Regions from separate parts of the Homo sapiens genome. Here regions 2 and 3 are each linked to region 1. Evidence: promoter capture Hi-C in 16 types of primary human blood cells and fetal thymus (Javierre and others, 2016). All regions are on one chromosome and are shown on one strand. The core of a region is centred on a gene start or on the middle of the fragment in contact, and the rest is flanking DNA. Distances in the headings are between cores, read along the strand shown.

Evidence for each region. Contacts are between HindIII fragments. The CHiCAGO score rates a contact against its expected background, and 5 or more counts as called.
Region 2: a contact is called between a fragment that was not itself captured here and the fragment with the promoter of CLDND1 in region 1, in 7 of 17 cell types (total B cells, total CD8 T cells, naive CD4 T cells and 4 more). The highest score is 11.5, in total B cells.
Region 3: a contact is called between a fragment that was not itself captured here and the fragment with the promoter of CLDND1 in region 1, in 4 of 17 cell types (total B cells, total CD4 T cells, naive B cells and 1 more). The highest score is 12.0, in total B cells.

What each region holds. Positions count from the first base shown.
Region 1 is chr3:98,521,475-98,524,412 of GRCh38, forward strand. It overlaps CLDND1 (claudin domain containing 1), which reads right to left and starts at 1,428. Exons shown (of 5, transcript NM_001040181.2): 1 at 1,375-1,428. CLDND1-AS1 (CLDND1 antisense RNA 1) reads left to right here and starts at 1,096. Exons shown (of 2, transcript NR_198998.1): 1 at 1,096-1,359. RefSeq lists silencers at 875-984, 1,035-1,674 and an enhancer at 2,877-2,938. The HindIII fragment of the contact is 2,905 bases long and covers 611-2,938 here.
Region 2 is chr3:99,821,923-99,824,860 of GRCh38, forward strand. The region is part of intron 1 of CMSS1 (cms1 ribosomal small subunit homolog); the gene reads left to right. HP09053 (a long non-coding RNA gene) reads right to left here and starts at 1,943. Exons shown (of 3, transcript NR_110821.1): 1 at 1,822-1,943. All of the region lies in intron 1 of LOC105374010 (a long non-coding RNA gene), which reads left to right. The HindIII fragment of the contact is 318 bases long and covers 1,362-1,679 here.
Region 3 is chr3:99,804,685-99,807,622 of GRCh38, forward strand. No RefSeq gene overlaps it. Among named protein-coding and RNA genes, the nearest start is that of CMSS1, 12 kb to the right of the region's middle. The HindIII fragment of the contact is 4,083 bases long and covers 1-2,938 here.

The DNA of each region.
Region 1 (2,938 bases), core at 178-2,677:
GAGTTTACGGACAAATAAGAAAGATTATTTTGAATTATTCCAAATGCACCCTTTACCCAATTCCCCATCCCTTCGTACATATAACCATTAAGAATTTTTTTTAGAAAGCAAGCATGTTTTTAATTAAGCTTAAAACAAAACTCATTCTCATAAAAGTACTTATTGAATGCTCACATACCCAGGATGCTACGGAGACAGAGGTCTTGTTCTCTAGTCTATCACCTGCATACTAAAACAGACAACACTGAAATGGACATACACATTACAGATACAAACAATAGACATGCCCATGGTCAGCAGTGTACCGTGCACACATTTTAAATTACAGACTGAATTTTTGCACGAGCTGCAGAGGATTAAGTGTTCTGGGTTTGAGTGTTAAAAAGGCACAGGAAAAAGAAGCAGTGGAAATTGGCTTCTCCCAGTTTCCTCTGAAGAGGGAAGCCTCCTAAAACAAAGGTAAGAGTCAGGAGCCATACAGAAAACAGAGTTGAAGATGTTTGTTAACCCCGAGGGAAAGGTTGTTCTAGGTGTATAAAATAGCAAAGAGAACAATAACATGTAATAATGCTAGATAGCAATCTCTCCCTAATCCATTAAAGCTAAGCCAAGCTTCTTTACGCTGCCAAATGCTTCACTCCTATCTACTCTCCCGATTCCTTATACTTCTGAACCTCCTCAACAGAAATCTTGCTCTCTCCCTAAATCCTCAGTGCAACATACGTCCGCAAAAACTAAATGATCCCTCCTCAGCCAGACAGAAAACTCTCAACATATCAACACTCCCAAGGCGTGGACAGGGCTCAACGGCAGTAGTAAATGGCCGCGGTAAAATGACTCAAGGCAGATCGCGCTGAGTCAAATACTACACGGCAAGTATACACCGTGACCGCACCAAACACCTTACAAAGGTTCATGAAAACAGACTCGCAAACTGGGGTTGCTGAGTTTGGAAAATGGGAAGTGACTCAGGAAAGATAAGAGCAATGACAACGAAAACTCAAAAAGTTGGATTTGTATTTTGATTTTTTAAAAATCCCCCCTTCATCCTGGTGCTCTCAAATGACCTTAAAGGGTCCCAGCACTGGGAACGGCGGTTCGTCCAAGCCGGACGCCTGCAGCAGCCACCTCCTGGGCCTCACGGCGGGGCCGGAGAAGGCCAGGGCTGGGGCGGGGCAGCCGTGCTCGGCCCCGGGCCAGGGTCCCCCGGTACCCGACCAGGCCCCGCCCTAGAGGGCTCGGCCCTGGGACAAATCCGCCGCTCGGAACCCGCCCAGCCCGACCACGCCCGGGAAGGGGGCCCCTCTTCAAACCGCCGGGAACATGGAACCGCGACGCGACCCCTGCCCGGCGACGCAGGTCCCGCTCACTCACCGCCCATCCTCCTGCTCCGCCAGCTTCACCCTCTAGCTCAGACCACAGCACCCTACTCTCCCCGCGCCTCCTCTGACGCACTTCCCTGCAGAGCCCGCCCCCTCCATAACTCCCGCGCCTCCGCCCGCCCCCACTCCGGGCCGGGCCGCGGCCCGGGGCCGAGGGGCCTTGTGGGAGTTGTAGGAGGGACAGACTGAAAGCTGTCTGAGGCGGCGATAGGCATTCCTGGCGCCGCGCGCGGCGCATTGTGGGAGATGTAGTTCAGCTCCTCAGGGCAAGCCGGTACGCAGAAGGGAAGTCTAGGCTGTTGGATTCTTGCATTTTAGGGAGGAAGGGAGAATGGTCCAGAAAGTAAAGCGGGCCTGTTTCCGGTCATCTCGAGTCAATGACCGTGACTTGTATAACTTAGATCTGACTTTTAGGCCTGTGCTTTCCCTATCACACCACCCTGCCTCTAGATCTAAGTATAAATGAACAAAAATGGGATTCTACTTGTGAAACGTTGACCCATTTTATTTCCCTCTCCCAGAATCCCTCCCATTGGAGCAGAGCATCCTTCTGGTTTTATTGCATAAGTTTAGGCTAAGAAGTATGTGACCTGGCAGACAGTATCCATCAAGAATGTAATGATATTATTTGGGTTTCATAAAATGTGTTTGTAGCTGCCTTCTTTTTATGACAAGTGATACTAGTTTTCTATTGCAGCAATGTTGTTCCTTTTAAATTCTTTTCACTTATTTTAAAAACTATTAAGTTAATAATACTGAGGATACCAGATATGTCAAAAAATGAATAAAAAATTGTGGGTATAGTAGGAAAAAGACTGAAATTTGGGGAACATCACTCAAGCAGATAAGGTCATGGACAGCATTGGAGATTGCAGATGATGTGTGGCACAGGGGCAACAATGATTCTGAACCCTCAGGTTTAACACAGAAATTCATGGACAGGAAGCAGGGACATCTTAACAATAACATGAGTGGAACTATTAACGTGGCCTGGGACCAGCAAATGGTGGATTTCTCAACAGTAACCGACAGAGAAAGCTGACTCAAGGACCAGAGGGGCTCTCAAACCCCCACTCTGTCCCCTAATGCCTTGTAATTTAGCATAGGAGAAAGATGGGAGCTGCAAGTTGATATTAAATTTCTACCACTTTGACAGATTAAAGGCATGATATGTTTCTCTATCTGTACTTACATTTCTTTGACCTGAGTGGGTGAAACTGATATTCATATGCAGCACATAATAAGGTAGTAGCCAAATATATTCAAACATGACTCTGGATTTTCATATACAGCATATAATCAAAAAAAAATTTGTCAGAGGCACCAACTAGAGAAAGTGATGGAGAGGCACAGGCAAATTGTCAATGTGTAGTAAGACACATAAATGCCCTTATACTCCAGGAAATGTCTTCATCCATTGGCCTTCATTAGAAATCCCCTATTTTCCGCCGGGCATGGTGGCTCACGCCTGTAATCCCAGCACTTTGGGAGGCCGAGGCGGCAGATCACGAGGTCGGGAGATCGAGACCATCCTGGCTAACACGGTGAAACCCCGT
Region 2 (2,938 bases), core at 271-2,770, 1.3 Mb after region 1:
GTAGTCCCAGCTACTCAGGAGGCTGAGGCAGGAGTATTGCTTGAACCCAGGAGGTGGAGCTTGCGACGAGCCAAGATCGCACCACTGCACTCCAGCCTGTGCTACAGACTGAGACTCTGTCTCAAAAAAAAGAAAAAAGAAAATGTTACTTGATCATTTACTCACTGAAGATGAAGAGAATACTAATTGCTTTCCCTTTTTATTTCAATGACATACCTATTAAATTACCAAGTCGAGTACCCAGTAGGCAGCTAAGTATGTGAGTCTGGAGCCCCAGGGCCAGATCCAGGCTGAGATACAGATTTAGGAATAACTGGCATACAGATAGGTTATTTTTAAAGAGCATGTTCTTAGCAGTCTGTAACATTGAGCCTCCATGTCTTTTAAGGAGGGTCTTTCATATGCCTCCCCAACTCATTCTGAATCTTTGATGACATCTCTTCCCAAGCACCTAACTAGAAAACTGAAGTGTTAAGACACTGCTATGTACAGTGCCAGGAGACTGCAGGTAATAATACCAGCTTGCGGCCAGGCGCAGTGGCTCACGCCTGTAGTCCCTACACTTTGGGAGGCTGAGGCAGGTGGATCACCTGAGGTCAGGAGTTTGAGAACAGCCTGGCCAATGTGATGAAACCCTGTCTCTACTAAAACTACAAAAAATTAGCTGGGCGTGGTGGCACGCACCTGTAATCCCAGCTACTCAGGAGACTGAGGCAGGAGAATTGCTTGAACCCAGGAGGCGGGGGTTGCAGTGAGCCGAGGTCGTGCCACTGCACTCCAGCCTGGGCAATAAGAACAAAACTCCATCTCAAAATAATAATGATAATAATAATAATAGTAATAATACCAGCTTGCATTTGTTGAGCACTTAACTACCTGCCAGATGCTGTTTTGATTGCTTTACATGTTCTAGTTAATTTAATCTTCCCAAGTACACCAGCGGTAGTTACTGTTGTTATCTTTATTTTACTGATGAGGAAGTTGAGACACTGAGAAATTAAGTGATTTACTTAATACTATTTAATTTAATTCACCCAATACTATCTATTTAATTGGTAAATAGGGGAGCTGTGATTCATATGCAGGCAGTCTGAAACCAGAGCCTGTGTGCTTATATTTCGCATTCTCATTATCAGTGGTAAGAATCTCATCTCTAAAGGAATAATCTGTTATCGGCTTAAAGAGACTCATAATTTAGAAAGTCTTTTGTTTATATATCATTATGAAATTGTGTCTATTAGTTTTCCAAAGTTTACTCTTTTAAAGAACACTGGTTACTTGGAGCTACAAATAAGCAGCTTTTCCATTTGGGCTTTGAGAACCATTTCTGCCAGTAACTCAAACCTGATCCTGGAGCTCAAAGCTTAACATATGTGGCTGCCTTCTTTAAATCTTTACTTAGTTATTTAATAGGGATGTCAAATGTAAACAAGACCCAGCTACTGAATTATTCTCCAAACCTGCTTTTTCTCCAAACTTTCCTGTCTCCATAAATTAAACCACCAACTACCCAATTTCACAAAGGCCTAGCAGTATTCTGATTTATTTATTTTTTTCACCCCTATATCTCATCCATCAAGTCCTGTTGTCACTACCTCGAAAACATATCCTGATTCTTTCTTTGCATTTTTCTTCGCTCTGCCTCCATTGGAGTATACATTTTCATCCTTACTGCCATAAGCTTCTAACAGGGCTCAGAGTTTCCACCTTGTCCCTCACTCACCAGCTAGAGGCCTTTTGAAAAGAAGTCAGGCCACTTTCCTGCTTAAATCTTCCAATAGCTTTTTCCCTGGCACATAGAATGAAATTCAGATTACTTACCATGGCTGGTGGCCACCAGGTCTTCTACTATTTACTCCCCTATAGTTTATGCTGCCCCACCCACACCAGCCTTCATTCTGTTCCTCAGTAGGCCACACTCATTCTGTCTTACTTAGCCGTTTGTGTTAGCTGTTCTTTTCCTTTCTGTCCTGTCCTTCTGATTGGCTGGCTTTCTTTCTTTCTTTTTTTTTTTTTTTGAGCTGGAGTCTCGCCCTGTCACCCAGGCTAGAGTGCAGTGGTGCGATCTCAGCTCACTGCATCCTCCACCTCCTGAGTTCAAATGATTCTCCTGTCTCAGCCTTCTGAGTAGCTGGGATTACAGGCGCCTGCCACCACACCCAGCTAACTTTTGTATATTTAGCAGAGACGGGATTTCACCATGTTGACCAGGCTGATCTCGAACTCCTGAGCTCTTGATCCGCCCGCCTCAGCCTCCCAAAACACTGGGATTACAGGCATGAGCCACCAGGCCCGGCCAGCTGGCTCTGTCTTAACATTAAGTACTCAGTTCAAACGTCACCTACTCAGAGTGGCGCTTCCTGATCAGGCAGTCTAGAGTAACTATCTAGGTGCTCTATTACATTATCACAATATCTATTAAATTATTATGTTATTATAATTCTCAGCAGAGCACTTAGCACCAACTATTATTTTTCCTTGTTAAATTAATTACTTTTTCCCAGCAGTAGACTGTAAGAGCTCCATGTGAGCAGGTATTTTGTTTGTCTTGTTTGCTTTAGTTTCAGGGCCTAGAGTAGTATCTGGATACAGCGAAGGCACTCATTAAGTATTTGTTAGTTAACCAATTAATTATTAATATTTCGTAGTCACACCTTGAAGACCTCAACCTAGGAGATCTTTATCAAAAGAACCTTGATCTGCTGGCAGATTTGTCAAACTCCTGTCCAGGCTTTTGACAGATTTGGCAAATGCCGCTTTTCTCTTTTCAAAATTACATTAGTAGTCCTTGTAAAACTGTGTCTAACATTTTATTGTAACCATATTTGGATTTAATTTTATAAATTACGTTTGGAAAGAGGACAAGAGACTCTTTGTAAATAAGCCTGTAATTTTTACTGGTGACAGCTTTTGTCACCTAGAATCAATGTGCTTATTC
Region 3 (2,938 bases), core at 265-2,764, 1.3 Mb after region 1:
TGGCCAAAACAATTGGGCTAGAGGCCCCATGCAAGTCTGAAACTCAGTAGGGCAGTCCTGAAATCTTAAAGATCCAAAACAATCTCCTTTGACTCCATGTCTCACATCCAGGGCACACTGATTCAACGGATGGGCTCCCAAGATCTTGGGCAGTTCCACCCCTACAGCTTTGCAGGGTTCAGCTCCCAGAGCTGCTCTCAAAGGCTGATGTTGAGTGCTTGTAGCTCTTCCAGGCAACAGGTGCAAGCTGTTAGTGTATCTACCATTCCAGAGTCTTGAGGAAGGTGGCCCTCTTCTCACAGCTTCACTAGGCAACACTCCAGTGGAGACTCTGTGTGGGAGCTACAGTCCCACGTTTCCCCTCTGCAATGCCCTGGTAGGGGTTCTCCATGAGGGCTCTGCCCCTTCAGCAGGCTACTGTCTGGACATCCAGGCTTTTCCACACATCCTCTGAAATCCAGGTGGAGGTTCCCAAGCCTCAACTCTTGCACTCTGCATACCCACAGGCTTAACAGCATGTGGAAACCACCAAGGCTTATGGTTTGCACCTTCTGAAGCAGTGGCCCAAGCTGTACCTGGGCCCCTTTGAGCCACAGCTGGAGCGAGAATGGCTGGGATGCAGGGAGCAGTGTCCCAAGCCTGCACAGGGTAGTCAGGCTCTAAGTGAGGCCCACAAAACCATTCTGTCCTCCCAGGCCTCCAGGCCTGTGATGGGAGGGGCTGCCACAAAGATCTCTGAAATGCCTTGGAGGCATTTCCCCCATTGTCATGGCTATCAGCATGTGCCTTCCTTTTAGCTATACAAATTTCTGCAGCCAGTCTGAACTGCTCCCCGGAAAATGGGCTTTTCTTCTCTACCACATGACTAGTTTGCAAATTTTTCAAACGTTTATGTTTTGCTTCCCCTTTAAACGTAAGTTCTAGTTTTATGTCCTTTCTTTGCTCATACATTATTAGCATAGGTTGTTAGAAGCAGCCAGGCCACATCTTCAACACATTGGTGCTTAGAAATTTCTTCTGCCAGATACCCCAAATCATCACTCTCAAGTTCAAAGTTCCATAGATTCCTAGGGCAGGGGTACAATGCCACCAGGTTCTTTGCTAACACATAACAAAAGTAACCTTTGCTCCAGTTCCCAATAAGTTCCTCACTTTCATCTGAGATCTCATTACCCTGGACCTCATTGTCCATATCATTAACAGCATTTTGGTCATAACAGTTTAACAAGTCTCTGAGAATTTCCAAATTTTCCCTCATCTTCCTGTCTTCTTCTGAGCCCACCAAATTGTTCAAACCTCTGCCTGTTACCCAGTTCCAAAGCTGATTTCACATTTTCAGGTATCTTTATAGCAATGCCCTACTCTTCAGTATCAATTTTCTGAATTAGTCTGTTCTTGCACTGCTATCAAGAAATACCTGAGACTGGGTAATCTACAAAGTAAAGAGATTTAATTGACTCACAGTTCTGCAGGCTGTACAGGAAGCACTGGGGCATTAGATTCTGGGGAGGCCTCAGGGAGCTTCCAGAGGGGTAACAACTGCTACCATTTAGTGAGTGCCAACCATGTGCCACAAACTGCTTTAAATGTTTTTATGTATTGACTTAGTTACTCCTCATAATAACTCTATTATTAGCTCCATTTTACAGCTAAAGAAATGGAGGCACTGGGCATGGTGGCTCACACTGGTAATCCCAGCATTTTGGGAGGCGAAGGCACAAGGATGACTTGAGCCCCAGAGTTCAAGACCAGCCTGGGTAACATAGTAAGACCCTGTCTCTACAAAAAATATTTAAAAATTAGCCAGTGTGGTGGTGTGCACCTGTAGTACCAGCTACTTGGGAGGCTGGGGAGGAAGGATCCCTTGAGCCTAGGAGTTCAAACCTTCAGTGAGCTATGACTGTGCCTGCACTCCAGCCTAGGCAACAGAGTGAGACCCTGGGGGAAAAAAAAAGAAAGAAAGAAAGGAAGAGAGAAAGACAGAAAGAAAGAGAGAGAAAAGACAAGACAAGAAGCAGAGACATAGTAACTTGTCCAAGATCTAATAAATGACAATGCCATGATTTTAATGCAGATATCTGGCTTCACAGTCCATGCTCTCAGGTATTATGCCAGATCGCCTCCTCAAGGAAGGAGACAAAAGTTCTTAGCTATCTAAGAAGCAAACAACTGCCAGTGAGGGTTCAGGAGATGACAGGGCTCTCTGTTGTTTCTTGATTATTGTGCTTACCAGAGACAACAGATATAGTCAGCTACAAAAAGACTATGACAGATGTCATGGTGACATTCCCATCCCTTAGAATATATAAAGGCAGCAGGTTTTGAAAAGGAAAGGGACCTACCTCATACTTATTAGGAAGACTACTATCAAAACAAACAAAAACCAGATAATAACAAGTATTGGCAAGGATGTGGAGAAACTGGAACCCTTGTGCACTGCTTGGGGGGAATGTGAAACTGGACCACTGTGAAAAACAGTATGGTGGTTTCTCAAAAAATTAAAAATAGAGTTACCATATGATCAAGCATTTCCACTTCTGGTATATACCCAAAAGAATTGAAAGCATGAACTCAAACATACATGTGTATATTCATGTTCATAGCAGCATTATTCACAATATCTAAAAGGTGGAATTAACCCAAGAGGCCACTAATGGATGAATGAATAAACAAAATGTGGCCTATAATGCAATGGACTATTATTCAGCCTTAAAAAGGAAGAATATTTTGACACATGCTATAACATGGATGAACCTTGAGGACATTATGCCAGTCACAAAATAACAAATATTGTATGACTGTACTTATATGCAGTACCTAGAGTAGTCAAATTCATAGAGGTAGCAAGCAGAATGGTGGTTGCCAGTGGCTCGAGTGAGGGGGGTTTTTGTATAATGGGCACAGAGTTTCAGTTTTGCAAGATAAAAAGAGTTCTGAG